Linked DNA regions of Homo sapiens: all the other regions are linked to region 2. The links are contacts of gene promoters, found by promoter capture Hi-C in blood cells and fetal thymus (Javierre and others, 2016). All regions are on one chromosome and are shown on one strand. The core of a region is centred on a gene start or on the middle of the fragment in contact, and the rest is flanking DNA. Distances in the headings are between cores, read along the strand shown.

What was found. Contacts are between HindIII fragments. The CHiCAGO score rates a contact against its expected background, and 5 or more counts as called.
Region 1: a fragment that was not itself captured here is called in contact with the fragment with the promoter of NOP2 in region 2 in 10 of 17 cell types (non-activated CD4 T cells, activated CD4 T cells, naive B cells and 7 more); the score reaches 19.5 in non-activated CD4 T cells.
Region 3: a contact is called between a fragment that was not itself captured here and the fragment with the promoter of NOP2 in region 2, in 5 of 17 cell types (activated CD4 T cells, non-activated CD4 T cells, total CD8 T cells and 2 more). The highest score is 11.3, in activated CD4 T cells.
Region 4: a fragment that was not itself captured here is called in contact with the fragment with the promoter of NOP2 in region 2 in 7 of 17 cell types (activated CD4 T cells, total CD4 T cells, non-activated CD4 T cells and 4 more); the score reaches 12.1 in activated CD4 T cells.
Region 5: a fragment that was not itself captured here is called in contact with the fragment with the promoter of NOP2 in region 2 in 2 of 17 cell types (non-activated CD4 T cells and activated CD4 T cells); the score reaches 5.7 in non-activated CD4 T cells.
Region 6: a contact is called between a fragment that was not itself captured here and the fragment with the promoter of NOP2 in region 2, in 8 of 17 cell types (non-activated CD4 T cells, activated CD4 T cells, total CD8 T cells and 5 more). The highest score is 13.8, in non-activated CD4 T cells.
Region 7: the fragment with the promoter of C12orf57 here is called in contact with the fragment with the promoter of NOP2 in region 2 in 1 of 17 cell types (activated CD4 T cells); the score reaches 5.1 in activated CD4 T cells.

What each region holds. Positions count from the first base shown.
Region 1 is chr12:6,925,148-6,929,010 of GRCh38, reverse strand. ATN1 (atrophin 1) reads right to left here and starts at 1,052. Exons shown (of 10, transcript NM_001940.4): 1 at 627-1,052. It overlaps LOC124902868 (a long non-coding RNA gene), which reads left to right and starts at 1,315. Exons shown (of 2, transcript XR_007063194.1): 1 at 1,315-1,484; 2 at 2,886-3,863. RefSeq lists silencers at 1,054-1,213, 1,394-1,443 and an enhancer at 2,468-3,167. The HindIII fragment of the contact is 151 bases long and covers 1,675-1,825 here.
Region 2 is chr12:6,566,885-6,570,831 of GRCh38, reverse strand. NOP2 (NOP2 nucleolar protein) reads left to right here and starts at 2,541. Exons shown (of 16, transcript NM_001258308.2): 1 at 2,541-2,625; 2 at 2,910-3,016. The coding sequence starts at 2,914. It overlaps CHD4-AS1 (CHD4 antisense RNA 1), which reads right to left and starts at 2,461. Exons shown (of 3, transcript NR_199067.1): 1 at 1,302-2,461. CHD4 (chromodomain helicase DNA binding protein 4) reads left to right here. Exons shown (of 40, transcript NM_001273.5): 40 at 139-750. The coding sequence ends at 156. RefSeq lists enhancers at 235-529, 2,197-2,246, 2,070-2,691. The HindIII fragment of the contact is 18,468 bases long and covers 1-3,947 here.
Region 3 is chr12:7,065,602-7,069,183 of GRCh38, reverse strand. C1S (complement C1s) reads right to left here. Exons shown (of 12, transcript NM_001734.5): 7 at 3,214-3,367; 8 at 2,551-2,666; 9 at 2,067-2,145; 10 at 1,413-1,541; 11 at 654-728. Among named protein-coding and RNA genes, the nearest start is that of C1S, 6.7 kb to the right of the region's middle. The HindIII fragment of the contact is 335 bases long and covers 1,926-2,260 here.
Region 4 is chr12:7,010,807-7,014,912 of GRCh38, reverse strand. All of the region lies in intron 1 of LPCAT3 (lysophosphatidylcholine acyltransferase 3), which reads left to right. Among named protein-coding and RNA genes, the nearest start is that of LPCAT3, 5.6 kb to the left of the region's middle. The HindIII fragment of the contact is 2,598 bases long and covers 359-2,956 here.
Region 5 is chr12:7,039,248-7,043,001 of GRCh38, reverse strand. It overlaps the pseudogene LOC100419825. Among named protein-coding and RNA genes, the nearest start is that of C1S, 20 kb to the left of the region's middle. The HindIII fragment of the contact is 6,449 bases long and covers 1-3,754 here.
Region 6 is chr12:6,972,063-6,975,968 of GRCh38, reverse strand. It overlaps EMG1 (EMG1 N1-specific pseudouridine methyltransferase), which reads right to left. Exons shown (of 6, transcript NM_006331.8): 2 at 1,529-1,630; 3 at 1,276-1,417; 4 at 821-879; 5 at 591-740; 6 at 1-273. The coding sequence ends at 160. Among named protein-coding and RNA genes, the nearest start is that of EMG1, 3.1 kb to the right of the region's middle. The HindIII fragment of the contact is 838 bases long and covers 832-1,669 here.
Region 7 is chr12:6,941,778-6,945,916 of GRCh38, reverse strand. C12orf57 (chromosome 12 open reading frame 57) reads right to left here and starts at 1,895. Exons shown (of 3, transcript NM_138425.4): 1 at 1,744-1,895; 2 at 1,265-1,441; 3 at 1-146. The coding sequence starts at 1,795. It overlaps RNU7-1 (RNA, U7 small nuclear 1), which reads right to left and starts at 2,101; the gene lies at 2,039-2,101. ATN1 (atrophin 1) reads right to left here. Exons shown (of 10, transcript NM_001940.4): 10 at 3,596-4,139. The coding sequence ends at 4,137. RefSeq lists enhancers at 68-678, 1,239-1,388, 928-1,507, 1,399-1,518, 1,819-2,008 and 3 more and a silencer at 1,346-1,605. The HindIII fragment of the contact is 10,579 bases long and covers 1-1,956 here.

The DNA.
Region 1 (3,863 bases), core at 501-3,000, 360 kb before region 2:
CTTCCACGCTGGAAAACCTCCGGCTCTTCTCAAAAATGGACCTCTCTTTGCCCAAGCCTCCGTCTCCCCCAGGTTCATCAGCCACAATCCCTCTTTCCACCTACCACACCCCTTTCCCGTTTCCCACTTCCCGTCTATTCCTAAAGCCCCCAACCCCAGGCTCCGGAACCCGTGTTCTGGTCCTTTGGAGCTTTTTCCTGGAGGCTTCATGCCCCACCTCGCTGCCATCTCTCCTATCCATTCTGCCTTCGCCCGGAACCCCACTCACAGCATCCCCCGTTTTCCTCCGCCAACCCCGGCCTCGATGTTCCTCCTCTTTTGAGTCTGCGGGTCCCGGATACCCTCTGGCCCCACAGGCCTCCTCCGGAGACCCTCCCTCCTTCCCCACCTTCCCGATCCTCCCGAAACCCTGGCCCCCGACTCTCCTCGGCGGGCCCCACCCCCTGAGCCCCCGGCCCTCAGGCCAGGCAGAGCCCGCAGTGGGGGGACGGGATTGGGAAAATAACAAATGGAGGCGGCGGCGGCAGGAGGGGGAACTGGGAGGGGTGGGGGTGGGGAGCCGCAGGCCGGAGCCCGGGCGGGACAGAACCCCGCGGGCCCGGGGCCCAGGCGGCCGCAGACCTTACCTGCTGGTAGCTCGGGACGGCTGGCTGGCTCCGAGCGGGATTCCGGGCTCCGGCGCCTCTGGGGGGCGGCGGCGGCAGCTCCCCCGCCCCCCTCTCCTCTTCTCGGCCTCAGTCGCCGCCGCGACGACGGCGGCGGCGGCCCCGACCCCCCCGGAGGGCGGCCCCCATCCCCCCTTTTCCCCGCCTGGCCCCAATCGCCCGCCGGCCCCCGGAGCAAACCCCGATCCCCGCTCTGCTCCCCACCTCCCCGGGCTCGCCGCCTCCCCCTGGCCGCCCGGAATGCCCCGGGCCGCGCCGCCCGCCCCCGCCGCGCCGCCCGGCCCCGCGGCCCGCCCGGCCCTCGGCGCGGTTCCGACCCGCCGCCGCCCGCGCCCGCCTAGCGCAGCCCGCACCCGCGCGATCCCGGGCCCCTCGGCCGCCTCGCCCGCGGCCCCCGCCCCTTCCCCGGCAGTCGGCTCCCTCTCCCCCCTCCTAGCCCCTCCCCGAAGCCGCGGTCCCTCCGAAATGGCCCGGCCCGAGGCCCCGACCCGGCGCGGGGCTGCGGACGGGCTGGGCGGTGCGTCCGGCGACTCGCACAGGAAAGCGGACGGCGAAGGGAGGGAGCCTGGGAGAGGGGGATGGGAGAAGGGAGGAAGAGGGAGAAGGAGGGAGCGCGGAGGAACGGAGGAGAGAGGGGCCAGGAGGGAGACGCGAGGGAGGGAGCGCGAGGCAAGCCGCGAGGGGGGAGAGAGGGGGAGCCGGAGAGGGGGAGGCGCAGCGCGAGTTGGCCGAGGCCGAGGCCGAGGGGGCCGGGGCGCGGGGAGGGCTAGCCGTGGCGGAATGTGGGGAGCCCGCGGGCCCGGCGCGGGAGAGGGCTAGGTAGGAGGGGCTGTGGGTGGTGAGGGCAGATGAGGGGAGGCTGAAGTTTGGGGGCGAGCGGGTCTGTGGCAGAGGTGAAGTGGGAGGAGTTTGGGGGATCCTGGGGTAGAGATTGGGATAATGGGATTGGATTGGAAAGATGGAGCTGCCTGGGGGCTTTGTGGGTGCCTGGTGAGAAGTGAGAGAAGCTTGGGGTGAGGGATCTGTGGCAGAGATGGAGCCAGACGGGTTTGGGGGCTATTATCAGAGAGAATGGGATGGAAGTTTGGGGTCATAAGGAGAGAGAAAAATTGAAAAGATGACATATATAGAAAGATGGGGCTTCTGGAAAAAGTAAAGCTTTTGGGGGTGATTAGTGTTGACAAAAGAGTCATAAATATAAGAATTGGGGGTGGGGGGATGAAGGAATGCTGGAGAGAGAGAAGTCCAGAGGAAACGTCAGTGAGGAGAGAGAGGAGGGAACGCGTGAGGAACCTTAAGAAGGGATGAACGAGGTGGGCCCAGGTGCCAATTCTAGGGAAAATAGGTTCTGGGTGAGAAAGGAGGGCTCTGGATGGGAAAGAAGGGTGGGAGACACCGGGCTGGCTGGATCCTGGGGGTGGGGGCTCCCAGTAGAGCCGAGGAGGGTTTACTTGGGCGGGCAGAATGGGGAAGAGGGGGATAAGAAGATTGGAAGGAAATGTAAGCTGAACAAGGCCTATGGCTGGCGGCAGTATGGAAGAGGAAAGATCATGGATGGGAAAAGAAAATGGAGATGGGGCCGGTGCGGGGGCTCACGCCTGTAATCTCAGCACTTTCGGAGGCTGAGTCGGGTGGGTCACTTGTCAGGAGTTCAAGACCAGCCTGGCCAACATGGCGAAACCCCGTCTCTACTAAAAATACAAAAATTAGCCGGGTGTGGTGGCGCATGCCTGTAATCCCAGCTACTCAGAGGCTGAGGCAGGAGAATCCTTGAACCTGGGAGGCAAAGGTTTCAGCAAGCAGAGATCGCGCCACTGCACTCCAGCCTGGGAGACAGAGCGAGACGCCGTCTCAAAAAAAAAAAGAAAAAATGGAGATGGGAAACGAGGGCAGTTAAAGGAAATGACAGATGTGGGAGCGGGGGGAGGTTGCTGGCAAGCTCATGGGTAGATAGGTAAGGGATACAGCTTGGAGGAGTGAGACACCATCCTCAGGCCTTCCATCTAGTGGCATCTCCATTTTCCTTCTCAAATCTGTTGAAAGTCATCACTAAAGATCCCCTGGGTCACAGGGAAGCAGTCGGGTGAAGACTGGGCTTAATGTGGACCCAAATCCCTGGGTATCCTTGTTGCTCAATCCCACTTGTTCTAAGGTGGAGACAGTCCCCACCACAGACTGCAGGCTCCTCCCAACCCTTCCTCTCCCTCCCCTGCTCTCCAGGTAGCCTCTGGCAGTCAGTCTGCTCCCGGCCGTGAAGCCAGCACCTCCGCCAGCCCACCACCAGTTCCTTCTCCTGGGCTCCCTCCTGGCCCTCCACCAAGCGGCAACATCTCCCAGGACAAAGGACACAGGGTGATTTTTGGCAGCAGAAATTGGGAAGGCCAGAGAATGGGAGGGAGGCAGGCTGGCAAGCCGGAAGAGCTGGAGCTGGAGTGTGGATTAGGAGCCCTCAGTAGAGCTCCAGATTTGGGGTGGGGGTCGGGTACTTGTGGGGCCAGTCTTGCTGGAGGCTAAGGGTGGGCCCTGAATTGGCAAGATCCCACCTGCCTTCAGGGAAGGAAGGAGGTTAGCTCTGGAGCAGCTCAGTAGATTTTTGTCTCACAATTCCTTGGGCCAGATTCAACAAAGTTCTGGGAATACTCAAAAGCTCTAAACAAGATTCCAGAGCACTGGGGAACTGGGCGCAGGAACAGGAACACTTCCTTGGCCTGGGAATGAGTCATCACTCTGAAGTCCCTTGAATTGGTTGGCACTCACTTTACCACTCCAAGCACACCTTCCTCCCAGGGCCTCCCTGAGACCAGGCCAGCTCCCTGTCTCCCTGTGCACCCCGACTCCCTTCCTCTTGCTCTAGGGTAGCTGCTGCTCCTCCCCACCCCTGACTTTGTTCCAGGGCTCCCCCTTTCCCTCTCACCCTCTCTCCCCATGGCATTTCCTCTCTTTCTGTACCACTCAGTTCAGTCTCCCACTGGGCCTTGGCTCAAGCCCTTTCCAAATCCCTTCCAGGCTGAGCTCTTCTCCCTTGTTTTTTAATCACTAAGGAATGGGCTACAATGGATACTAAAAGAAAAATTTAGGCATATGTGGGGATAGGGGATGGTGAGAGTCACAAAAGAAACCATTGTCTACCCTCTCCCATTCCTCCCCTACCTGAGGGCCAGGCTTATAGTCCAGCTGCAGGGGACATCTCTCTCTCTC
Region 2 (3,947 bases), core at 1,292-3,791:
AGAACCATTCTGGAGCTTGTAACTTTGCTGTATGTCCCTAGCTTTACATACTGGGTGGGTGGCCTATCAGTGAATTCCCTTGAGATTGGGTGGATTCCTATCATCTGGAATTCTGACTCCTCGGGTCTCCTTCTCTAGGTAGCCCAGCAGCAGTGAAGATGCAGACTGATACCACCTCCACCGCTGAGCAGTGACCTTCCTCACTTTCTCTTGTCCCAGCTTCTCCCCTGGGGGCCTGAGAGACCCTCACCTTCCTTCTGCCCATCTTCCATGTTGTAAAGGAACAGCCCCAGTGCACTGGGGGAGGGGAGGGAGTGAGGGGCAGTGGTGCCCTTCCTGCAGAAGAGACATGCAGCAGTAGCGCTGGCGCCATCTGCAGGAGCTGGCGGGCTGGCCTTCTGGACCCTGGCTTCTCCCCACTGTAACGCCTGTTACACACAAACTGTTGTGGGTTCCTGCCAGGCTTGAAGAAAATGATCTGAATTTTTTCCTCCTTTTGGTTTTATTTTGTTGGTTTATTTTGTGTTTTCTTTTCTCCTTTTTGGGGGGTATTCAGAGTGGGCTGGGCCCCTGGGCGAGACACAGCTACCTCTGTTGGCATCTTTTTAATACCAGGAACCCAGCGGCTCTAGCCACTGAGCGGCTAAATGAAATAAAGTGGAAAAAAAAAAAAAGGAAAAAACCAAAAGCATAAAAAACCACAGCAAATTTCTTGATGAAAATTGAAAATAAAAGTTTCCTTGTATTTTAGTGCTCTGGTTCAGTGTGGGTGTAGGTGCAGGTGGATGAGTGTGTGCGGCAGGAGCCTGGCACCTGTATAGTTGAAAATTAAGGGCTACGTGGTGTCCTGATACCCCACTGAGTAACTGGGTTCTGTGTGTGGGTGCAGTATGTGCCTTGCCAACGTTGACTTCCACCTGTGGAAAATGAGAGGCTGCAAAACTGCGGGCACCGCCGCTTAATGGCTCTGTGACCTTGAGCAAGTTGTTTAACTTTGGTGGGATGCAGATATCTCATGTATACCTCATACGGTTGTCAAGTTAAACCAGTGAAGTACATGGAACGGTTTTAACACCTAACCACTACCTTAATGTTAGTTTCTAGGAAGGCTGAGGGGGGTTTTCTTGCTAAGTTGTGCAAAATTGGGATGCAATTTGTGGAAGAACACAGCCTCAATCCCACACCCCCGGAGGCCCGACCTAACGTCCTCCAACCTTGAAACCCTTGTAGTTCACCCCTTCTCATGTCCCAGACCAGGTCAGCCTTGCAACCCGTTGTTTCCCAACTAATTGTAGACCCACCTGAAAGCGAGTTCCGGCGAAGAGGCCCCCTGCGAATGAGGTGCAGTGCAGCACCTTAATTGAGGGGCTGAGCAGGGGTCAGCATCAAGGAAGGTGCTGGGAGGGCGGGGCACGGTGGCTCACAGCCTGTAATCTCAGCACAAAGGTGGGGGCAGGAGGATCGCTTAAGCCCAGGAGTTCTAGACCAGCCCTGGCAATATAGTGAGACGCCACCCCCTACAACCCGTCTCTATAAAAAGATTTTTAAAAAAGGGGCAAAGAGGAGGAGGTAAGTGGCATGGAATTCCACGGTTTTTTTTGTTTGTTTGTTTTGAGATGGAGTCTCGCTTTGTTGCCAGGCTGGAGTACAGTGGCGCGATCTCAGCTCACTGCAACCTCCCCCTCCCGGGTTCAAGCGATTCTCCTGCCTCAGCCTCCCGAGTAGCTGGGACTACACGCGTGCGCCAGCCACCATGCCCAACTAATTTTTGTATTTTTAATAGAGACAAGGTTGGCCAAGATGGTCTCGGATTTCTTGACCTCGTGATCCGCCCGCCTCGACCTCCCAAAGTGCTGGGATTACAGGCGTGAGCCACCGAGCCCGGCTGGTTTTTTTGTTTTTTTTTTTTGAGGTGGAGTTTCGCTCTTGGTGAGGCTTAAGTGGCACGATCTCGGCTTACTGCAACCTCCGCCTCCCGGGCTCAAGCAATTCTGCCTCAGCCTCTCGAGTAGCTGGGATTATAGGCGCCCGCCACCACGCCCGGCTAATTTTGTATTTTTAGTAGAAGCAGGGTTTCACCATATTGGCCAGGCTGGTCTCGAACTCCTGACCTCAAGTGATCCACCCACCTCAGCCTCCCAAAGTGCTGGGATTACAGGCGTGAGCCACTGCGCCCAGCCTGGAATTCCGTGATCTTGACGCTGGACTAGGGCAGTGGATGCGAGGGAGAGGGCTCCAATGTCGGGCCCTGGTTCGAGGAGAAGGTGCGGCTTTCACCCAACAGAAACCGGCCGTGAGGCTAAAAGCCAACTCCATGAGGGAAGGTCGGTCAAGCTCAATGGTTTCGTCACATTGCTCCCTCCACCCGCCGCGGGTGTAAGCTGCGCGTCTCCTTCGAATTGCCCCCTACTCGCCGCCGCCGGCTCCGCTGGCGTTCCCAGGGCGAGCGTAAGTTCCGGGTGCGGCGGCCGACTAGGCGCAACAGGAAGAGGCGGGGCCGCGAGGCTAGCGCTACCCGTGCGCCTGCGTGGAACGATTCTGTGGCGAGTGCCGGCCGAAAGCTAGGTCCGGATTGCACGTGGAGGGCCGCCCGAAGGGCACTCTCGGACATTAACCCGCATTCTGGTGGGTCTAGAGGAAATTGGGGGACGAAGAGTGGCAGCACTGACCTGGTCTGGGACGTGGGGAGAAGGGTGCGCTACCTGGGTTTCAGGTGGGAGGGCGTTCGGTCGGGCCTCCAGGGGGATAGCGGGGGTGCTTGAGTCGCGGGTGCTGAGTCGGGAGTGCTGAGTGAGTTGCGGGTGCTGAGTTGAGGCTGTGCCCTTTCCCACTATAATACGCCAAGCGTGCGTTCTGCCGTTCCCTCCGACACGCGCGACGCCACCTTCTCCCATTTCTGCCTGCCACAGTACCATGGGGCGCAAGTTGGACCCTACGAAGGAGAAGCGGGGGCCAGGCCGAAAGGCCCGGAAGCAGAAGGGTGCCGAGACAGAACTCGTCAGATTCTTGCCTGCAGGTAAGGATTAGTTGTGGCCTCCTGATCCCTCAGCTTTTGCAGTATTCTGTATTATAACCTCTTCTCTTTTTTAGTTTCTGTTCATTTTATATTTAAGTGGAATCTTCTCTGTATGAGTTACTAGGAGGTATGAATGAAACAGCCGTTTAGATTGTAGGGAACTGTTTAGGTCGTAGAGATGTGAAGACACGGACACAACTATTATTCATGCAAGGGAAAAGTGTGATTTAAAACAATTGTGAGTTCAGAGGAAGGGGGAGCCCATGCAGAACTGTAAAAGTTTTTGTTAAGCTGGGTTTTGAAAAATGGGTAACATTGTAGCAAGAGGAAGTAGTGAAGGGGAGGGGTCAGTCACTGATTTGCCTTTTGGAAGGGGTGGAAATGGAAAAGCACGGATCTGGCTGCTTCATGCCGAGTAGTAGTATACTGTGTGGAAGACTGGTGGGAGGTAACACTGGACCGGGAGTTTGTGTTGGGCATTGGATAAAGGATGCAGTTTATTGAGATAGTAGGAAGTCCTGGGCACTGTATTAAACTTGTTGGTCATGTTATATCGCTTAATCATCTTAGAGTCCTGTGAGAGAGGCACTATTAAGGAAACACTTTGGGAGGCCGAGGCAGGTGGATCACCTGAGGTCCAGTGTTCGAGACCAGCCTGGCCAACATGGTGAAACCCTGTCTTTACTAAAAATACAACAATTAGCTGGGTGTGGTGATGGGAGGCTGAGGCAATAGAATCGCTTGAATCTGGGAGAAGGAGGTTGCAGTGAGTTGAGATCACGCCATTGCACTCCAGCCTGGAAGACAAGAGTGAAACTCCATTTCAAAAAAAAAAAAGAAACTTGTATACAGTTATTAAATAATAACAGGGCTGAGATTTAAATGGACTCCTTTTAATTAGTGTACTAATTCTCTTACCATGTTTATTTCC
Region 3 (3,582 bases), core at 844-3,343, 500 kb before region 2:
TGAACTTAGACAGACCTGGGCTCAAAGCCTGCCTTTGCCACTTGCTAACTCTGTGAACTTGCACCCCACCCATTCACATTTGACATTGGTCAGATAAGACCAATGACACCTAGCTCACAGGGCTGTTATACGGACACGAATGAGATAATAAATGCAACAAATCAGCTCAGTCTTCAGCTTTCAGTACCACCCAGGATGGTTATTATCCTATTGGATTTGCCTCAGCCTTCTGCTACCCAACTCTTATCTTCCTCATTCTTTGAATTCCTCTATATCTTGCTGCCCTATAAACTTTTAATATAATAACTAGGCTATTTAGCTAGACTTGTTTCTGAGTGTTGATTACTCACACACTCTCAGCTTTCAGGCCCTGTTTTTAGCAGTTCTGTATCTTCTCACTGCAGCTACATTACCAGACACCAACTGTCGCTGGCTGACGTTTCTATTTCCTTCCAGTTGGCCTGGCTTCAGTGCGGCTGAGGAGGTTCCCCACGGCCCTGGCAGCCCACGGCACAGTGATACTGCCACCTCACTGAGCTGGACTCTGGCAGGTCACTGTTCAGTCCTTTCCCAAGAGGATTACAGTTGCTTTCAGAAGGTGACTCCCAGTCACCCATGGCTATCATCTCTCCCCAAGCCTCAGCCCTCCTTACCTGGAACACATTTCGGCAGCTCCGGGCCCAGCACCTCATTCACCCAGCTCCCGTTACCAGCACAGTGATACTCCCCTGGAATAGCACAGAGAACACAGGCCACACTCACCACCACATCTTCCTTCTTCCATTCCCCCCTCCGACCCCAACACCCTGCCCCGTTCCTTCAGAACCTCAGCTCGTCTAGGATTCAAGTAGTAAATCAGATTAAATCAGCCAGAAAAAAAATATCTTCCTCCAAACAATCCCTCAGGCCTCTAGCCTGCCAGGGAGACAAAGGGAACATCTCCAAAGCAGAAGGAAAGAAGGCATCGGGAAAGTGGCGAAATAAATACAGAGCAATGCAGAGAACGTATTAGGGTCTCATTCAGCCCTGCACCTAGCATGACCAAAGCCTCTACATCAAGAAAGCCAGTCAGTGTAGTTTGGTGGCTTAAAGCTGAAGGCATTGCTCCTGTGGGTTTTACATGAAATAACTGGTCAAAAGGTGGGTAATCCCATGAAATGGATGTTGTAGGGGAATTCCTGCTGCAGCTGTGAACTCAGTTGGTGACCTCTATGATTCCCTGAGGCTGATGCTCCCCTGAACTTGCCCTGCTCCAGATGAAAACTGTATCTTTGGACGAAGCCAAGGGGATGAACAATGTCTGTCCTATCGCCTTCATTTGTCTCCAAACTCTGTCTCTGGCACAGATTATGCTATCCACCCTCCAACACCTTCTCACTCTCTCTCTCTCTTCTCCAGTAGAAGAAACCTACCACCTCCTCCATTTTCCATGTAGTAATATGGCTCCTCACAAGTGTAGCGGATGACAGAACCAAACAAAGTGCTCTCTGGGTCTTCAACTTTACCATTCTCAATGGATTCAGGAATGCCACAGTCCACAGCTACCAGACGAAGGAAGGAGAGCGATGGTCAGGACAGCCACTTCCTCCAAGGAAGAGTCATGGGGCCAGGTTCATCCTCACTGCTTCCCCACCCCATATCCACAGGCACACCTGGGATGAACCTCCCCACACCAGCCTCTCTGTGGCCATCCTCCCCAACTGGCATCTCTCAGCTCTCTCACCCGCTGAGATGCCAATTCAGATGGCCCCATGAAAGCCGTAGTGAAGAGCCTGGTTCTCAGTGGTTGGTGAAGGCCCAGTGGAAGCCACAAATGCACCCACGTGGGGCTACTAACTCGACCTATCCCATAGCCCCTTTCTTGGAAAGAAACATGCCGATCTAGTTGGCCTGGGACCAGATGCGGGGCTGGGACTAGAAAAGCTTCCATGACTGGCTTCCCTTCAAAAACCCAACCCACTCCCTCACATGCCTAAGAGGAAACCATGCATTTGAATTTTGATGTGCTGATCTTTCCATTCTCTCTGAGAGAAAAAGAAAGACTTCCACTTTGAAGAGACACATACGTTGACATTTCAGTTTGGAATTACTCCACTTTCCATTGCTTTGACAAGTCGAATAGAAAGATGTTGCACCAACACGTCCCTGGAGAATAATAAACATCACCACTTATTTCTGAAGAGAGATATGGGAAACCAAAATCAAAACTGGAATTGATCTCTGGCCTTGGATCAATGAGGAGTCCTCACCACAAGAAGCTTGGGAACATCTTAGCAGACCTAAAGCACCCAGGAGATGAGGCTGACAGAAAGCTTTGCCCCAACGTGTCAACTCCCCTTCCTCAAGAAGACTGAAGGCAGAGAGAATGCCAAGCTGGCCAGGCAGCTCCATGACTCACAAGGGAGAACTACAGATCTTAAGCTGTTGTGTTTATGGGAAAGGTGTTATACCTTGATCACACACATACATTGGGTAAACAACTGGACAATTTCAGTCCGCTCATCCTGATCTGGGGCCAGGGACTGGGGAGAAGCCAAGGTGGTACTTTACCTCCACAACTTCAAACCCATCCAGACAGGTTATCTGCACCACATCTCTAAAGACATATTTTGCCTTCGCAGGCTCCCAAACAGAATTGGGAGTGTCTTCCTTAGGGCAGGGCATTGCTTGAAAGAACAGAAGTTGGGACAGGAGGAAAAAATTACTAAATAGTTGAAGACTCTCATTCTATTTACATCATTCTCACACTTTCTAAAATCGTCCAGTTGTCCTCAATCCTGATGCTTAACATTCCAATACAGCAGATGTCTAAAATCATATGGCATTACCAACTAACCACCCGCAAGCTGTCTGCAGTCTCAGGTCTAGTTAAAGGATTACTAGAGGTTGAGGCATTTCTAGCAACCGTTGACTGGTTTAGATTTTCCTGAAGAAGTGAAGTATCTCAGGATTCTATCAGAACAACAATCTATCTGTTTTTTAAATTATTGTTGCTTTGTTTTTGTTTTGTTTTAGAGACAAGGTTTTGCTCTGTTGCCCAGAGTGGACTCAAACTCCTACTTCCTGGGCTCAAGGGATCCTCCTGCCTCAGCCTCCCTCGGTAGCTGAGATCACAGGTGCTTCCAGTGTGCCTGGATCATCTACCTGCTTTGATCCCACATTGTTTGGGGACTTTGGTATCACCAACCAAAGAGGCACTTCTAAGTTACTCACGATCTCCATGATAGCGAAGTTTCCAGCCCTTTTTTTGCCCTGTTAGATCAGTTTGGAAGATGATATCAAGAGCATTACTCTTGGTTTCAATATTTAGAGGCCCAGGGAATCCATGACCACAGTAAGGACCAAATTGCCGATCTCCTGCAACAAACTGAACAAAATGATGAAATCAGAAGAGGGAAAGAACTAAAGGGAAGAGGTAAAATTGGGAAGTGGGAGATACAAATAAAAGAGGCATTAAATGTCACATAAAATAAGAAGAAAATAAGGGTCAGGAGAAAAGATAATTTTATCTTCAGGCTGAGTGCAGTGGCTCACACCTATAATCCCAGCACTTTGGGAGGCCGAGGTGGGAGCATTGCTTGA
Region 4 (4,106 bases), core at 408-2,907, 440 kb before region 2:
TTTTTTTTTTTTTTTTTTTTGAGACGGAGTCTCGCTCTGTCACCCACACTGGAGTGCAGTGGCTCGATGTCGGCTCATTGCAACCTCCGCCTCCCAGGTTCAAGCAGTTCTCCTCCTCAGCCTCCTGAGTAGCTAGGACTATGGTGCACGCCATCATACCCGGCTAATTTTTGTGTTTTTAGTAGAGACGGGGTTTCACCATGTTGGCTAGGATGGTCTCAATCTACTGACGTCGTGATCCACCTGCCTCGGCCTCCCAAAGTGCTGGAATTACAGGCGTGAAATTACAGGCATGAGCCACCGCGCCCAGCCGAGGCTGCAATTTTTAATATTCAATACTTCAAAGAAAAAGTAAGCTTATGTGGACTGCTGCACTGGAGTATTTTGAGCAGTCAGAAGACTGTAAAAGGAGTGTGTTTATGTTTGTGTGGTGTATGCTTGCAAGGAGTTTGATGGAAGGATGCTGAAGAGGAATTTTGCCATGAGCCCTGGTGCTGGCAAATACTACCAGAAAACATCTCCCCTTCAACAGCTTGGATCTCATCACTCCTTAATGTAACTAATACCATGAATTGCTCATATAAATTCAGTAACATGCACCTACTACAGGTAAAGCAGTATTCTTAACCCTGCAAGGGCAGGAGCAGTGGGTGTAGTATGAGTCAGGAGCCCTGCACTCAAAGGTATTATGGTCTGTTAGGGTATAGGAAATGGGCCTGAGATAAGTATACTAATAACCCCAATAAATTTTAAGCACCATAAGAGAGGTACAGAGCTTTGTGAGATTTAAAGATGGGACATTTCATTTAAAGATGAGTAAGGTTTCAGCATGCTGAGATGGTAAGACTTAAGGAATAGCATGAGCAGAGGCACTGAGGTGTGAATGTGGCAACACAGCCAAGGAACAGTCAGTAGTCTAGTGTGACTAAAACAGGACTTTAAAGAAGTGATGGAAAATCAGGCTGGAACTGTAGGTTAAAGAGCCTTTAAAGCCAAGGTAAAGAGTTAGTACTCACGTAGGTGATAGGGAACATTGGAGATTTTTGAGTGGGGAATAATATGGCTGGAGCTGTATTTAAAAAGATAATACAGCCTGGGGTGATTTGAAGTCAGCATAGACAAGTAGTAGGGAAACTAAGGAGAAAGAAGTGATCTAGAGAGGAAGTTATAATGACTTGGAGGCAGGGTGGCTGTGCTGAGAGGAGAAAGTGGGCATCTCCTGTGAGATGGTCTAGGAATACCGGAACCTTTTGAAAGGTAGATTCTGTAGACACAGTCATCTACACAGCTGCTCATGCCTGAAACCCAAGAATCAGCTTTGTTGCCTTTCTTCACTCACTCCCCACATCCCAGTCACCCAATCCTATCAATACAACCTCTGGATTGTGTCTCAGATCCATCTACTATTCTCCATCACCACAGCCACTAACCATCTGTCACCAGCACCACCCAAGTAGCCTCCTGACTAGTCTCTAATTCTGTTCTTGCCCCCTCAGTCCACTCTCCAAAAGCAGCCAGAGTGATCCGATCCTGTGCCTCTCCTGCTCAGAACCCTTCAGGGGCTTCCATACCTGGCTGGTAAGCCCCTGCCTGCTGCCCCAGCCTCGTCCCAAGCAAGCTGACAACCTTTTAGCCACATGGCCTTTGTTCAGTTCCTCAGGAAAGGCATGAAGGCTTCCCTACCTCAGAGCCTTTGCACACGCTTACCTGCTGCCTGGAGTGCCCTTCAGTCACCTGACAAACTCCTTTTCATCTTCCTCTGAGTTCTTTCCTGACTCTCATGTTCAATTATGTCCCCTGTTACACTTTCTCATACTGACCGGAATTTCCTTCCAAGTATATATTACACTTTGTAATTATATATTTGTAGATGAGGACAGAAACCATGGAAGTTTTGTTTACCACAGTGTACCCAGAGTTTAACACATTACTTGGCTTGTAGAAAAGGCTCGATAAATACTTGAATAGGTGAATGTATGAATGAATGACTTGGCAACTTATTAGCTGGAGGATAAAGTCGTAATTTTAAAAAGACTCCATCCTCCTGCCTGAGTAGCTGGAAAGATAAGGGTATCTTTGACCAATGCCAGAGATCAAGTGGAGGATCAGATACTCTTAAGTGCCAGGAAATGATCTGGTTTGGGGTTCACTTTAGGTTCCAAGGGCACTTCCAGGTATCTTGGGAGTTGTGAAGCCTGGTCTTGAGCTCAGGAAAGAAGCTGGGCTAAAGACAGAGTTTTAGGAGACAGTATTGGTATCATAACTGACTCAGGGAGGGAATGAAATGCCATGGAAAAGGTTATACAGAGAAGAGGATCTTATTCACGTTGATTGGGTATGTTAATGTTGCTACCCCTTGATAATAGTAATAGCTGGCATTTATTAAGGATTTTCTGTGTACCAGACATTGTCCTAAATGGTCAACAGGCAGTTCCCCACCTAAACCTGCCAGTTACCCGTGAGGTAATTATAGTGCTGTTAAGATCTCCTGGTACAGATAGGAAAGTCAGCCCTACAAAGATTGAGTAAGTCACACTGAGTTCTGCCTGACTCCAGAGTTCCTGCTCTTTACCGCTGAGATTGGGAGGAGCATGTGGGGCTGGAAAAGATAAATGCCCTTGGTGTCCTTTTCTCTTTTCACTCTCAGTGGTTAAACCAAGATGCAATCAGTATATGAGCCACCTCTCAGTGTCCAAAGCTAGAGCTGGCCAAATGGAGCAGATGGCCACCCTGCTTACTGTGAGTGTTCCCTAGTCTTGGCCATGATGGTGGCTTGGCTGTTAGACTGATCAAAAATTGCAGCTGGGGGTAACAATTCATCCCTCAGAGGTTCAGAATTAGCATCACTAAAGTTAGCGACCTTTAAAATCAAAGGAGGTCCTGCAGTTTAGTTCCCTTTGGACCAAAGTCAGGTCTGGCCCTTCAGAAAAAAATCCATTATTCAGTGCAGAAAGCTTTCTTCAGGTAGCACTGGAATCACAATATAAAGAGACCAAAGGTAAGCTAGATGAAAATTAAGCAGCATTAATGAAACAAAGAGACTTCTGACCATAATACAAAGCAGGGTCCAAAAATTCTACTGCTATAAAATAGGGAGACTGTCCTAAATGACTTTCAAGGACCCTTCCAATTTTAAAAGTCTAGGTATATTACTTCTACATGTTTAGACTTTATTCTAGTTCATAGCCACAAATTTCATCATAATCTAAACCTTCCCGTTTGGGAATTTCTTTTTCTTTCTTTCTTTTTTTTTTTTTTTTTTTTTGAGACATGGTGTTACTCTGTCATTCAGGCTGGAGTGCAGTGGTGCAATCTCAGCTCACTGCAACGTCTGCTTCCCAGATCAAGCAATTCTCTAGCCTCAGCCTCCTGAGTAGCTGGAACTACAGGCGTGAGCCACCATGCCTGGCTAATTTTTTCTGTATTTTTTGTAGAAACAGGGTTTTACCGTGTTGCCCAGGGTGGTCTCAAACTCCTGAGCTCAAGCAATCCACCAGCCTCAGCCTCCCAAAGTGCTGAGATTACAGGCATAAGCCATTGCCCCTGGCCAAGAATTTCTTTTAAATACAATTTTCCAGGTCAGGCACGGTGGCTTACGCCTGTAACCCCAGCACTTTGGGAGGCCAAAGCAAGAGGATCACTTGAGTCCGGGAGTTCAAGACCAGCCTGGGCAACATAGTGATACCTCATCTCTACAAAAAGTGAACAAAATTAACTGGGCTGGGTGGCATATGTCTGTAGTCCCTGCTGCTTGGGAGGCTGAGGTGGAAGGATCACTGGAGCCCGGGGTCCTCCGCTCAACTCAGGACGTTGAGGCTGCATTGAGCCAAGATCATACCTCTACACTCCAGCATGGGCAAAAGAGCAAGATTCTGTCTCAAAAATAAATAAATAAATTTTGTTTTTAATTAGCCAGGCATGATGGCATGCACCTGTAGTCCCAGCTATTCAGGAGACCAAGGTGGGAGGATCATTTGAGCCCAGGAATTTGAGACTGCAGTGAACTATGATGATGCCACTGCATTCCAACCTAGATGACAGAAGGAGACCTCATCTCTAAAAATAAATATATATATTTTTTCCAACCACTTTTTATCTATACCCCA
Region 5 (3,754 bases), core at 124-2,623, 470 kb before region 2:
AATCAAGGAAGGTCTGAGAAAGTGTAACAGCCAGGAGGAGCCTAGGAGACATGAAAACTAAACGTAATGTGGTATTCTGGAGGAGGCCCTGGAACAGGAAAACGACATTAGGTAAAAACTAAGGGAATCTGAATAAATTATGGACATTAGTTAATAGTAATGTATCAACATCACTTCCATGATTGTAACAAATGTTCCACCCTAATGTAGACATTAATAATGGGGAAACCGTGTAGGAGCTGTATGGGAATTCTCTGTACTATACGCTCAATTTTTCTGTAAATCTAAAACTGCCCTATAAAAATAAAGTCTATTTTTAGAAAGTTATTCCAGCAAGCAGAAGAAAGATGTCAGACATATTTTTTCTATACTCACAAAAGTTAAAGCATGGACTTTTTCAAAAAAAAGATACAAGGGAGAATAACAGATGCATATTTTTAGAGAGAAAAAAGTGATGTGGTAGAACTTAACTGAGAAATTGGAAATAACAGGAAAGCCACCACAAAAATGAAAAGTTCATTATAGAAACAGCAAGAAGTCAAATACATACTATGAAAACATAGATAGTACATGGAGGCCAGTCTTGAAAAAAATCACCCAAAACAAAATGGAAAAGTGCAAAGGGATAAAATCGCAGAGACGCTGATGAAAATGGATCAAGGAGATACATGATTGGTGTTTTGAGAAAAGAATATAACAACTGGAATGGGAAAGTATTCAAAGATATGGTTGAGTATGGGCATGGTGGCTCACGCCTGTAATCCCAGCTCTTTGGGAGGCCAAAGCAGGCAGATTACCTGAGGTCAGGAGTTCAAGATCAGCCTGGCCAACATGGTGAAACCCCATCTCTACTAAAAATACAAAAATTAGCCAGGTGTGGTGGTGCACACCTGTAATCCCAGCTACTCCAGAGGCTGAGACAGGAGAATCGCTTGAACTTGGGAGGCGGAGGTTGCAGTGAGCTGAGATCACGCCACTGCACTCCAGCCTGGGTGACAGAATGAGACTCTGTCACCAAAAAAAAGTATATATATATATTTATATATTTTTATATATATGGTTGAAGATTTCTGTCAAATAAATGAACTGAAATCTTTAGATAAAAGGGCACTCTTACAGGAAAATAATGACAAAGAATCATTAACACTGAAGCCAATCCTGGAGATCCTAAATGACAAGGATAATGTAAAGAATATGGGACAGTGGTTTCCTTCCCCAAGAGTGTGCAGATGCTTGGGTGCAAAGGCCTATTTCTCTTCAGCCCCAGTTCACCCCACAGACCGAGGGCGGGCCTCGCCATCAGGACCCAGTGGCCATGTCCTGATGCAAGCTGCGACGGTCATTGTCCTCCAGAACAGGGATGGAGAAAATACCAGCCCAGGAAGCAGCAGGCTCACCAAGGGTCCGATTTCAGTTTTTGGAGACCCAGTCTGAGAGTCTGACTCCAAAGCCTCATTTTGTGCAGGACACCGACATGGAACAGGGACTCACTAGGGTTCCACCTGTTCCCCAGGTGCCTGCCTTTCCCCATGAGGACAGCCCAGGAGATCAGGCAGCTGCGCTCCTGACAGCCAGGTATCAGCAGTTTGTGACATCTGAGGATGTGGCTGTGCACCTTACTCAAGAGGAATGGAGATACCTGGACCTTGTTCAGAGGGAACTCTACAGAGATGTGAGGTTAGAGAATTATGGGAATGTGGTCCCACCAGGCATACTTCTCCCCCTTCCACCAGATTCATAGTGTGAATTTTTGCCCGGCCCTGAGTCATACCCAGGCAAGTGCTTTCTCTGGAGAAACTTAGTCCTTACAGCAGGAATCTCCAAGAGATGGCCCAAGTATTACCTGCTCAGAAACTCCTTTTCCATGATTGCCAGATATTAAACTTAACTGATGCGATAGATGCCCCCTAGGATGCCACCACTATGTAAAATCGCAGCTCCTCGAATTACCTTTGTTAAATTTCTAGTATCAGAGTCCAAGGAAGCCCCCTGCTGCAACCAGATGCACTTTGAACTCAGTTTATTCAGAAACCATGGTTGGTGGTCATCTTCTACTTGTGTTCTGAGAAACCACAAAATTCAACTTCAGCTCTTCAGTTATGATATTGTCATATTATTTTAGAATGTGAAACATATGCCGTGTGCCCCTCCTTTTATGTAGTGAATACAACCTGCCCCTTATGGTGGTTAACTCCCTGTCACCCCTGGGCTTTCCTCACGTTTAACACTCTGGTTTTCTCCTTCCTGAAGTCCCTGTGGCCCTCTTCAGGGTCCTACCCTCCTCCCCTTTATTCTTTGCAGTTCTGTACAGATTGATGCACTTATATTGCCTTTTCTGATTAAATGTTCCTTAGTCTTTCCTTGATGGAGGGGAGAAGGGAGGACAAAGAAGTTAAATTTTATTTTGGGGCATCAAAACAAATGTCTACTTAGTAACTTTGTAAACTGTAAAGTGATATATATAATTGTGAAGTACTATTAATTTTACCTAATAATTACAGAGTGTTCAACAGTTTAAAAAAAAAAAAAAGAATGCTGGCCAGGTGCAGTGGGTCACGCCTGTAATCCCAGCACTTTGGGAGGCTGAGGCAGGAGGATGGCTTGAGACCAGGAATTCAAGACCAACCTGAGCAACATAATGAGACACTGTCTCTATAAAAAAAAAAGAATAATGTTATAGAAAACCAAACAGAGAAGCCAGGTGCGGTGGCTCAACGCCTGTAATCCCAGCACTTTGGGAGGCCGAGGCAGGCAGATCACGAGGTCAGGAGATCAAGACCATCCTGGCTAACACGGTGAAACCCTGTCTCTACTAAAAATACAAAAAAATTAGCCGGGTGTGGTGGCGGGCGCCTGTAGTCCCAGCTACTCAGGAGGCTGAGGCAGGAGAATGGCGTGAACCTGGGAGGCAGGGCTTGCAGTGAGCCGAGATCGTGCCACTGCACTGCAGCCTGGGCCGGGTGTGGTGGTGCACACCTGTAATCTCAGCTACTCCGGAGCCTGAGGCAGAATTGCTTGAACCAGGGAGGCAGAGATTGCAGGGAGTCAAGATCACGCCATTGCACTCCAGCCTGGGCAACAAGAGCAAGACTCCATCTAAAAAAAAAAAGAAAGAAAAAGAAAGGAAAGAAAGAAAGAGCAAAGAAAAGGTAGGAAAAATCTTTGGGACCTGGGAGTCATTGAGGAATTCTTAACCATGACACCAAAATCAGATCCTTAAAAAGGAAAATTGATAAATCAGACTTCACCAAATTTGAAAAGAAAAAAACCTTTTCTCTGCAAAACCCCCCTTAAGAGGATGTAAAAGATAAGCGATGGACTGGGACAAAATATTTACAAACCACACACACACAAAAGCCTTGCATCTAGAACATGTAAGAACAAGTCGCAGCTGGGAGCAAGACTAAGAGGATGAGCAATGGCAGACTTGCCCGGCTGCAACAATGCTCCACGAGTGAGGGGCCGCTGCTCGCTGGCCCCACACGTCCAAGGCAGCTCTCGTGGCCTCCAGCTAACAGTGCCACCCAGGGTCAAACCGAGGGCAGAAGGCTCAGCCTTATGCTGGAAACCCAACCTTGGCACCTCCCGTGTTCCTTGTGGGAACATCTGCTCCTGCAGAAGGCAGAAAAGGTTGAGGCAGGAAGCTGTGCGGATGGAATTGAGAAAGAAGTAACCGAGAGTGTGCAGTGAAGGGAGGGAGGGAGCCCCCTGCACGGCAAGGTGGTAGCCGAGTACTCCAGAGAAGAGGACCTGG
Region 6 (3,906 bases), core at 1-2,500, 410 kb before region 2:
ACAGTATTCATAGGATAAACAAATAGCAAATGTACAGCCTTGGCTTCCCCAAACTCCACAGTCTCAGTGCAGAAAGATCATCTTCCAGCAGTCAGCTCAGACCAGGGTCAAAGGATGTGACATCAACAGTTTCTGGTTTCAGAACAGGTTCTACTACTGTCAAATGACCCCCCATACTTCCTCAAAGGCTGTGGTAAGTTTTGCACAGGTGAGGGCAGCAGAAAGGGGGTAGTTACTGATGGACACCATCTTCTCTGTATACTCCACACTGACCTAAGAAAAGAACAGTTTTGTCAGCCAACTCTGTCACTCAGTAGCTGTTTCAGCCCTTCTTTAGGGCAGGAAAACTATGGCTGAGCTAGTATTTCAGCTGTGCTGTTGAATATCAAATCCCTACAAAGGATGAAGAAGGTCCTAACTGTGACTTCCAATTATGGCAGCAGCCCTCAAAGGATGTGCCCTGGGGCAGGGTGTGGAACTGTCATGTGTCTTCTAGCTCATTGTAAGCATTGTTAAAATGCCTACTGCTCTGGGAATTCTATACTAAGTTCAGCTCTACCAAGAATTTCAGGGTTGAGCCCAGACCTTACCTTGCCATGGGCAAAGGCCCCTACCACAAAAACAATAGGATCACTGCTGGGCACCAGCTCACGCACATCACTGACAACCGGGATGGAAAAAGAAGTGCCAACTTTCATACATCCAACTGGAAAGTGATCTGATACTGGATTCTTAATTACCTAAAGTAAAAAAGAGAGAAAAGTCAGCCCCAGAAACATTCCCAGAACCAGCCTTCAACTAACAGGTTTCAATACCTCACCTTCAAAAGCTTCTGGGGGCCATCAGCTGCTCGAACACTGAGCTTGTGTAAAAGTTGAACTAGAAGGGGGAAAAAAGAGTTCAGAGCTAGATGGAGACCACAGTCCTTCTGTCCAGTCATCGAACAAGGAAAACCCCATGGATAAGATGAGTTCCCTGTGTGCTTTATATCTAGACTGGACTCCTGAAATGTTAGGAACAAACAGTTGCCAAGCATATGGCTAGCTGTACAGTGATGGGTTCAGACTCCCTCTTTCACTCAGCCAGGAAGCTACTGCAAGAACAGGAGTGGAGTTTCCACAAACATAGAAAAATAATAACAGTCCTTGTCCTGGTATTAATCATGTTGTTCTCCCATTTTCTCGCTTAAAAATCCACATTTAGTTCTCCCTTTTCCTCTTCCTCCCTTCTTCCCTACTGACAAGTTCATTCTAACTTTGTTCTAAGGCTTCTTACCCATGAGGCCACAAAAGCGGTCAAAGGTTCTGGGAATTCGGGTCTGGGGATTCACTTCAATCAGAACATTCTTCTGTGTATGGATATAAACCTGTAGCAAGCCAGCTCGGTTCAGGGGACTATCCATCAGCATCAGCAAACTCTGAGCAAAGCAGAAACCGAGACATGGTTAAGGCTGAAGAGAGGCAGCACTCAGCTGCCAACCCTTCCATACAGAGGCTCAAAGGGTTGTGAGCACTGTCCCTGGAGTTACCTGGTGGGTGATATCTGGCCGCGCTTCCCCAGGGTCCCGTCCATTCTTCAACAATATAGACTTGTGCTTGTCACAGTTGAGTAGCTCATATGTCTTCCCTACCTGAAGAACAGGGAACATGACGAGAGAACAGCATAAGCTTCTGTTACCTAGCCCCGTGGTTCTTCAAGTGTGGTCCCCAAACTACCAGCAGCAGCTGCACCTGGAAACTTGTTAGGCAAATTCTCAGGCCCACCCTAGACCTACTAAACCAGGAACACTGGGGGTGGAGCCCAGCAAGCCCTTCGGGGGATTACTGTGCAGCCTTATTTGCACTCCCCAGTGAATGGTCTGAGAGGGAAACAGGAGGAAGGGCACAACCTGTGACTTCACATTATCTACTAATACACTGGATTTAATTAAAAAACCTGTGGCTGTTAGGCAAGGCCAATGAGACATCCTGGAACTAGGCAGGAGTTAGTAGTTAGCAAGGCTGAATGCTGTGTTTATTACAGGAGCAGTAAGTAGGTACTGTGCAAAATATCGAGTCACCACCCTCAGTTTGCGTACACCAAACATGCACTAAGTGAAGAGCTGCAAATCTGAACAAGAAATGTGAAGGCCGGGCGTGGTGGCTCACGCCTGTAATCCCAGCACTTTGGGAGGCCGAGGCGGGCAGATCACAAGGTCAGGAGATTGAGACCATCGTGGCTAACACGGTGAAACCCCATCTCTACTAAAAATATAAAAAATTAGCCGGGCATGGTGGCAGGCGCCTGTAGTCCCAGCTACTTGGGAGGCAGAGGCAGGAGAATGGCATGAACCCAGGAGGCGGAGCTTGCAGCGCCACTGCACTCCAGCCCGGGCAACAGAGCGAGACTCCATCTCAAAAAAAAGAAATGTGAAAACTAATGATGCAGGAGGCAGTTTAATCAAAGAAAACTCTCAGAAGTAAAAGGAAGAGGGGTTATTCCCAGTTTTAAGACGGGCATGGGGGCAGATGCAGTGGCTCACGGCTGTAATCCCAGCACTCTGGGAGGCCAAGGCAGGCAAATCACTTAAGGTCAGGAGTTCAAGACCAGCCTGGGCAACATGGCGAAACCCCATCTCTACTAAAAATACAAAAATTAGCTGGGCATGGTGGCACATGCCTGTAGTCCTAGCTACTTGGGAGGCTAAGGTGGGAGGATGGCTTGAGCCCAGGAGACAGAGATTGCAGTGAGCCAAGACTGTACCACTGCACTCCAGCAAGACCCTGTCTCAAAAAAAAGAAAAAAGAAAGACTGGCATGAGCAAAGGTACAGATGGAATCAAGACAAAGTAGCCAGGTGTGGTGGCTTATGCCTGTGATCCCAACACTTTAGGAGGCCGAGGTGGAAGGATCACTTGAGCCCAGGAATTTGAGACCGGCCTGGGCAACACGGTGGGACCCTGTCTCACAAAAAAAAAAAAAAAAATTAGCCAGGCGCAGTGCCATTTGCTGGCAGTCCCAGTTACTCAGGAGGATGAGGTGGGAGGACTGCTTGAGCCAGGGAAGTAGAGGCTGCAGTGAACCATCACACCACTGCACTCTGTTGCCCAGGCAACAGAGCAAGACCCTATCTCAAAAAAGAAACAAAAAAGAAAAAGTGGAAACGAAGAAAGGAAATTTTGAGGAAAATTGGGAGCTGAGACACTAAAGGGCAGTGATTATATATGAAGCTGCTTTGTAAACCACAGAATCCTAATGTATCAAGCACAAAGCCAAAAATAATTCTGGAGTAAGCAGGGCAGGATGGGAATGACTGACAGACACTATCCTAACAACTCTCTGTACACTGGAAAAGACATCAGAAGTTTGATGTTAAAGAAGTGGACTACATCTGTAGCAGCTAAAAGAAATAATTCCAAGTTGCAATTTGGAGTCCCAAGGAGCATTAGGGTGGTCAGTAAAAAGTCTAAAAACAAACTGTTATATACAAATACAAGTTTTGGAAGGTTAAGTTTTTATGTATCACTGGAATGTATATGTCTAGCAACATTCTTGAGATATATGGCTCCAAAAAGTCTGCGAAAAAAGGGATGTAGATTTTGAAATTGAATAGTTGAAGTAATGTCACAGAGAGCACAAAGAACAAATGACCAAGAACTAAGTCCATGAGACACCCTTAGTTATAGAAGAAAAAAACCTTCTTGAATGAATAATACAGTTTCAACCCATTAGTAGGATATAATCATGTTTTCTATTCTTTTAATAGATTACAGGCGCAGGCCTGTAATCCCAGCTACTCTGGAGGCTGAGGCAGGAGAATCGATTGAACCCGGGAGGCGGAGGCTGCAGTGAGCCAAGATCGTGCCACTGCACTCCAGCCTGGTAGAGACTGAGACTCCATCTCAAAAAAAAAAAAAAAAAAAAGTGT
Region 7 (4,139 bases), core at 646-3,145, 380 kb before region 2:
GGCGGCCACGCTGCCACCAGCAGCAGGCCCATGGGGTGGCAGGGTCATGGGCGGCAGAAACAGCGCCTTCAGCTTGCCTGACAGGCTGGCGATCTCAGGATCCTGGGCTTCGTAGGACTTGACCAAGCGAGCAAACTTAAGGACACCTGCAAGAGGGAGTGGAAGGTCAACCCTTCTCCTAAGGACCAGCGTGCCTAAGACACCTGGAGGGGGTGGTAGTCTAAGCATGAACTGCTCCCCCACTGGCTGGGCAGCTGTTTGCCAAACAGGACGCATGCAGGCCTCTGTCCCGTGTGGTTTGGATGATGACATTTGGTCTACACTGGGCACAACTAGATGGGATGCAGTGAATGAAAATGTCCCAAGGCAGTGTGCTTCTTGCTCTCAGGTGAACCATTTTAGCAGTTTAGTCACTGGAACCCCAAGAATGAACACGAGACCCCAGGTCTGTAGCTGGAACTCAGGAAGGCTATGAGGCAGCAGAGCTGAATCAGTCAACACCTTTGGGGAACACCAGGATCTCACCAAAAATTTAACCACCAACCCCCCCCAAACAAAAATTAGCTGAAACACCCTGGAGAGACTGCAGCCACTGCTGTCATGCAGACATGTCACTAAAAGGTGGCACAACAGCATTTAAGTCCAGCTCTGCTACTCGAGAGTCTGCACCATTAGAGTTTGCTTCCTCATCACAAAATGGAATAATAATGTGATTAACAGTACAGGTTGACCATCCTTAATTAGAAAATCCAAAATCTGAAATTATGAGTGCCAGTGTGAGGCCGAAAATGGAAAATTCCACACCTGACTTCATAGTGGGGGGTGGGGGAGACTGTAGTCAAAACGCAGTCAAAACTTTGTCTCATGCACAAAATTATTCAGACTATTATATAAAATTACCCTCAGGCTATGTGCATAAGGTGCGTGTATATGAAACAAAACAATTTCGTGTTCAGATTTAGGTCCCATCCCCCAAGATATCCATGTATATGTAAATATTCCGAAATCTGAAAAAACCCGAAACACTTCCGGTCCCAACCATTTCGGGTAAGGGATACAGAACCTCTACTGTACAAAACGCAACTCGGACGCACAAGCTCAGGGTAGACCCTGGGCTCTGAGTGCCAAGAATGTTAGTCAGATTGTGGCTGCCGCCGTGTGGCGAGAAAGGGGACAACCGCTCATGGGCCCACAGATCCGGCGCCCTCTCCCGACCCAACTCCCGCCTTCCCGCGTCTGACCCGCCTTCCCGCGTCTGACCCACCTTCCCCGTCGCAGCTGAAGCCATAGGCTTTGATAACCTCCTGCTGGATCTGCGTGGCCACGGGCAGCACGAATTGCAGCATCTTACCCATGTCGTTGCAGGCGTTATCCCGAGCCTCGTCCATGCGCACTGCATTCTCCGGGGCGGAGAACGCCTGGATCACCTCCGCGAGGACCACTGCGCGCCAGAAGCATCCCAGGGAGGCGTCCCGGGTAGGCGTCGGAGAACAGACAGCGGGCCCAGCGGAGAGCGCAAGGAATTAGTGGATTGAGGCTGTAGGTAACCCAATAAGATCCCAAGTCTTGGGGGCAAGCGCCCCACTTAGAAGGACGGTACCCGGCGTCCCCTACCCCATTTTCCCGGCGGACGTAGCCAGGTTTGTCGCCCCACATCCTCCGCCCGCATCCTCCCCAGACCAGCAGCCCATGCCTTGACTACCCCAGGCCAGCAGCCTATGCCTTGACTAGGACGATTCTCACCCTTTGCTTGCTCAGCGCTCAAGGCCGCCGGTTGGGTCGAGGCGGACGCCATAGGGCGTCTGAAGCTCTAGGTTCAGCGGAGGTAAATGGAAAACTCACGAATAAAGAGCCACGTCCTACAACCGTTCCCAACGCCCCTGGGAGCGGAAAGGAAACAGCATCCGGCGCAGCCGGAAGCGCCCAGGCGTGGCCCAAACCTTCATACCCCAAGCTTACAACTGCATCAAGACCACCAAAACTACCCATAATTTTTGCACAGTGAAAACAATCTATCATTGGCAACAAACATCATAAGAGGGGCTTTCCGGTAAAAAGCCAGAAAGCCTACTAGACAAATTCTAAAAGAGCTGTAACACTGCTGCGTATGTGTTTGGAGAGAAGATGGGATATAAAGGAACTCCACAATTGATGAGGGTGAGCTTAGGTGACTTTTTTCTTGTTCCTATTACTGTATAAACAACGACGCATGTGGTAACTTTCAGTAGGAAAAATAATATTCTAAGGAACTTACTTAAGTCATTCATTTCTAGAGTTCGCGAACATTTGTTCTCAGCCCATGCAAATGAGTTCGGTGCTGATTGGTTGAGAAAGCAGCCAGTCACAGCCCCTTCGTTGTTGTTAAGCCCGGAGACCTGGATTCGGCAGTAAAGGCCCAGAGCAAAAGCCGTTGTCGCAGTTTCCTAAAGGCCTTGTCTATTGATGAGCGATGGAGCCTAATGCCCGGCCCGATTTCCCTTCCCTTCCAGGCTTTTATCACCCACTCCCTTCTCAAACTGTAGGTGGTTAAGGATGCCAGGTACTAATCGCCTGGACCTATTAAAACTAGCCCACCCCACCCCCGCTTCATAACCGGCTTTGTTTTTTGTTTTTGAGACGGAGTCTTGCTCTGTCGCCAAGCTGGAGTGCAGCTGGGGGGGATCTTGGCTCACCATAACCTCCACCTCCCGGGTTCAAGCGATTCTCCTGCCTCAACCTCCCAAGTCGCTGGGACGACAGGCGCGCGCCACCATGCCCAGCTAATGTTTTGTTTTTAGTAGAGACAGGGTTTTGCCATGTTGGCCAAGCTGGTCTGGAACTCCTGACCTCGTGATCCGCCCGCCTCGGCCTCCCAAAGTCCTGGGATTACCAGCGTGAGCCGTCGCGCCTGGCCTCATAACCGTTTCTTAAAGTATTCCACGGAAAGGTTTCAGGACTCTGAAGCCCTTGTTCCGGAGGACTCTGGTGGCTCCTAGCAGTGAGACCCGTCTGAATAGATTCCTAGAACTGACCACGTCAGAGGTGGGCCTGTCCCAGGCCTCTAGTGTTTGGTTGGTTGGGGTGTCTTTTGTTTGTTTGTTTTGAGATAGGGCCTTGCTCTGTCACCCAGGCTAGAGTGCAGTGGTGCGATCATGACTCACTGTAGCCTCGACCCCCAAGTGATCCTCCCACCTCAGCCTCCTGAGTAGCTGGGACCACAAGTGCACCACAACCCCCAGCTGATTTTGTCTTAAGATGGGGTTTCTCTATGTTGCCCAAGCTGGTTTCCAACTCCTGGGCTCAAGCAATCCACCCGCGTCTCACAGGCATAAGCCACAGAGCCCAGACCGAGGCCTCCACTGGCGCGCAGCGGTCCTGCCCAGCCTTGGGGCAGGAGGGGGCACCAGCACCCATGGTACCGCCTCCAGCTGAGTCAAGGCTCTGGGCTCTTCAGGGATCCCCTCTCCAATTCTTCCCAGCCCCCACACCCCGTTCCTTAAGAAGGTCTGGTCTCTTCCCGCTTCCCTGCCAGGCCCTGGCTGCAGTTCTCTCTAAGCACCGCTGCACTGAGACCCAGCCTCACCCCCATATCCCGCAAAGAATAGTCACAGCCATGTTCCTGGGGAGTTGTGAGGATGTTTTTGTTTGGTTGGTTTTGGTTGGGATGTTTTTTTAAGAGCGTCATATAGATATTTATATATATAAATTATTAGTGTGGGGAAGGGGCAAGGGGCATACATTGCAGAGGGGGCGCGCACACAGGGATCGGGGAGGGGCAGGGGTGGCACACGATGCTACGCAAAACAGCCACATCTAACAGATGAAATAATCACACCAACGGGGCAGGGGAGGGGCGGCGGCCACAGGGGTTGGGCATGGGGGAGGAGAAAAGCAGGGGGGACAAGGAAGAGAGACCTGGTCCAAGATTCTGTGCGCTTTCTGTCCCCATCCTCGCCACCTCCCCACCTCTGCACACCACATCGGGCCTTGGCCTTCTGTCTGTCCCTCCCTCCCCCACTCTCTGTCCAGCTGCGGAGGCCCTGCAACTGAGCAGCACCCTCTTGGCTCTGGGTGGCAGGCCAAGGGCACGGTGGGGGGAGGGTGGGGGTGCTCCAAGGTCCAATGTAGGAGCCATGGTGCTCTCTTGATCGCAGGTTCTA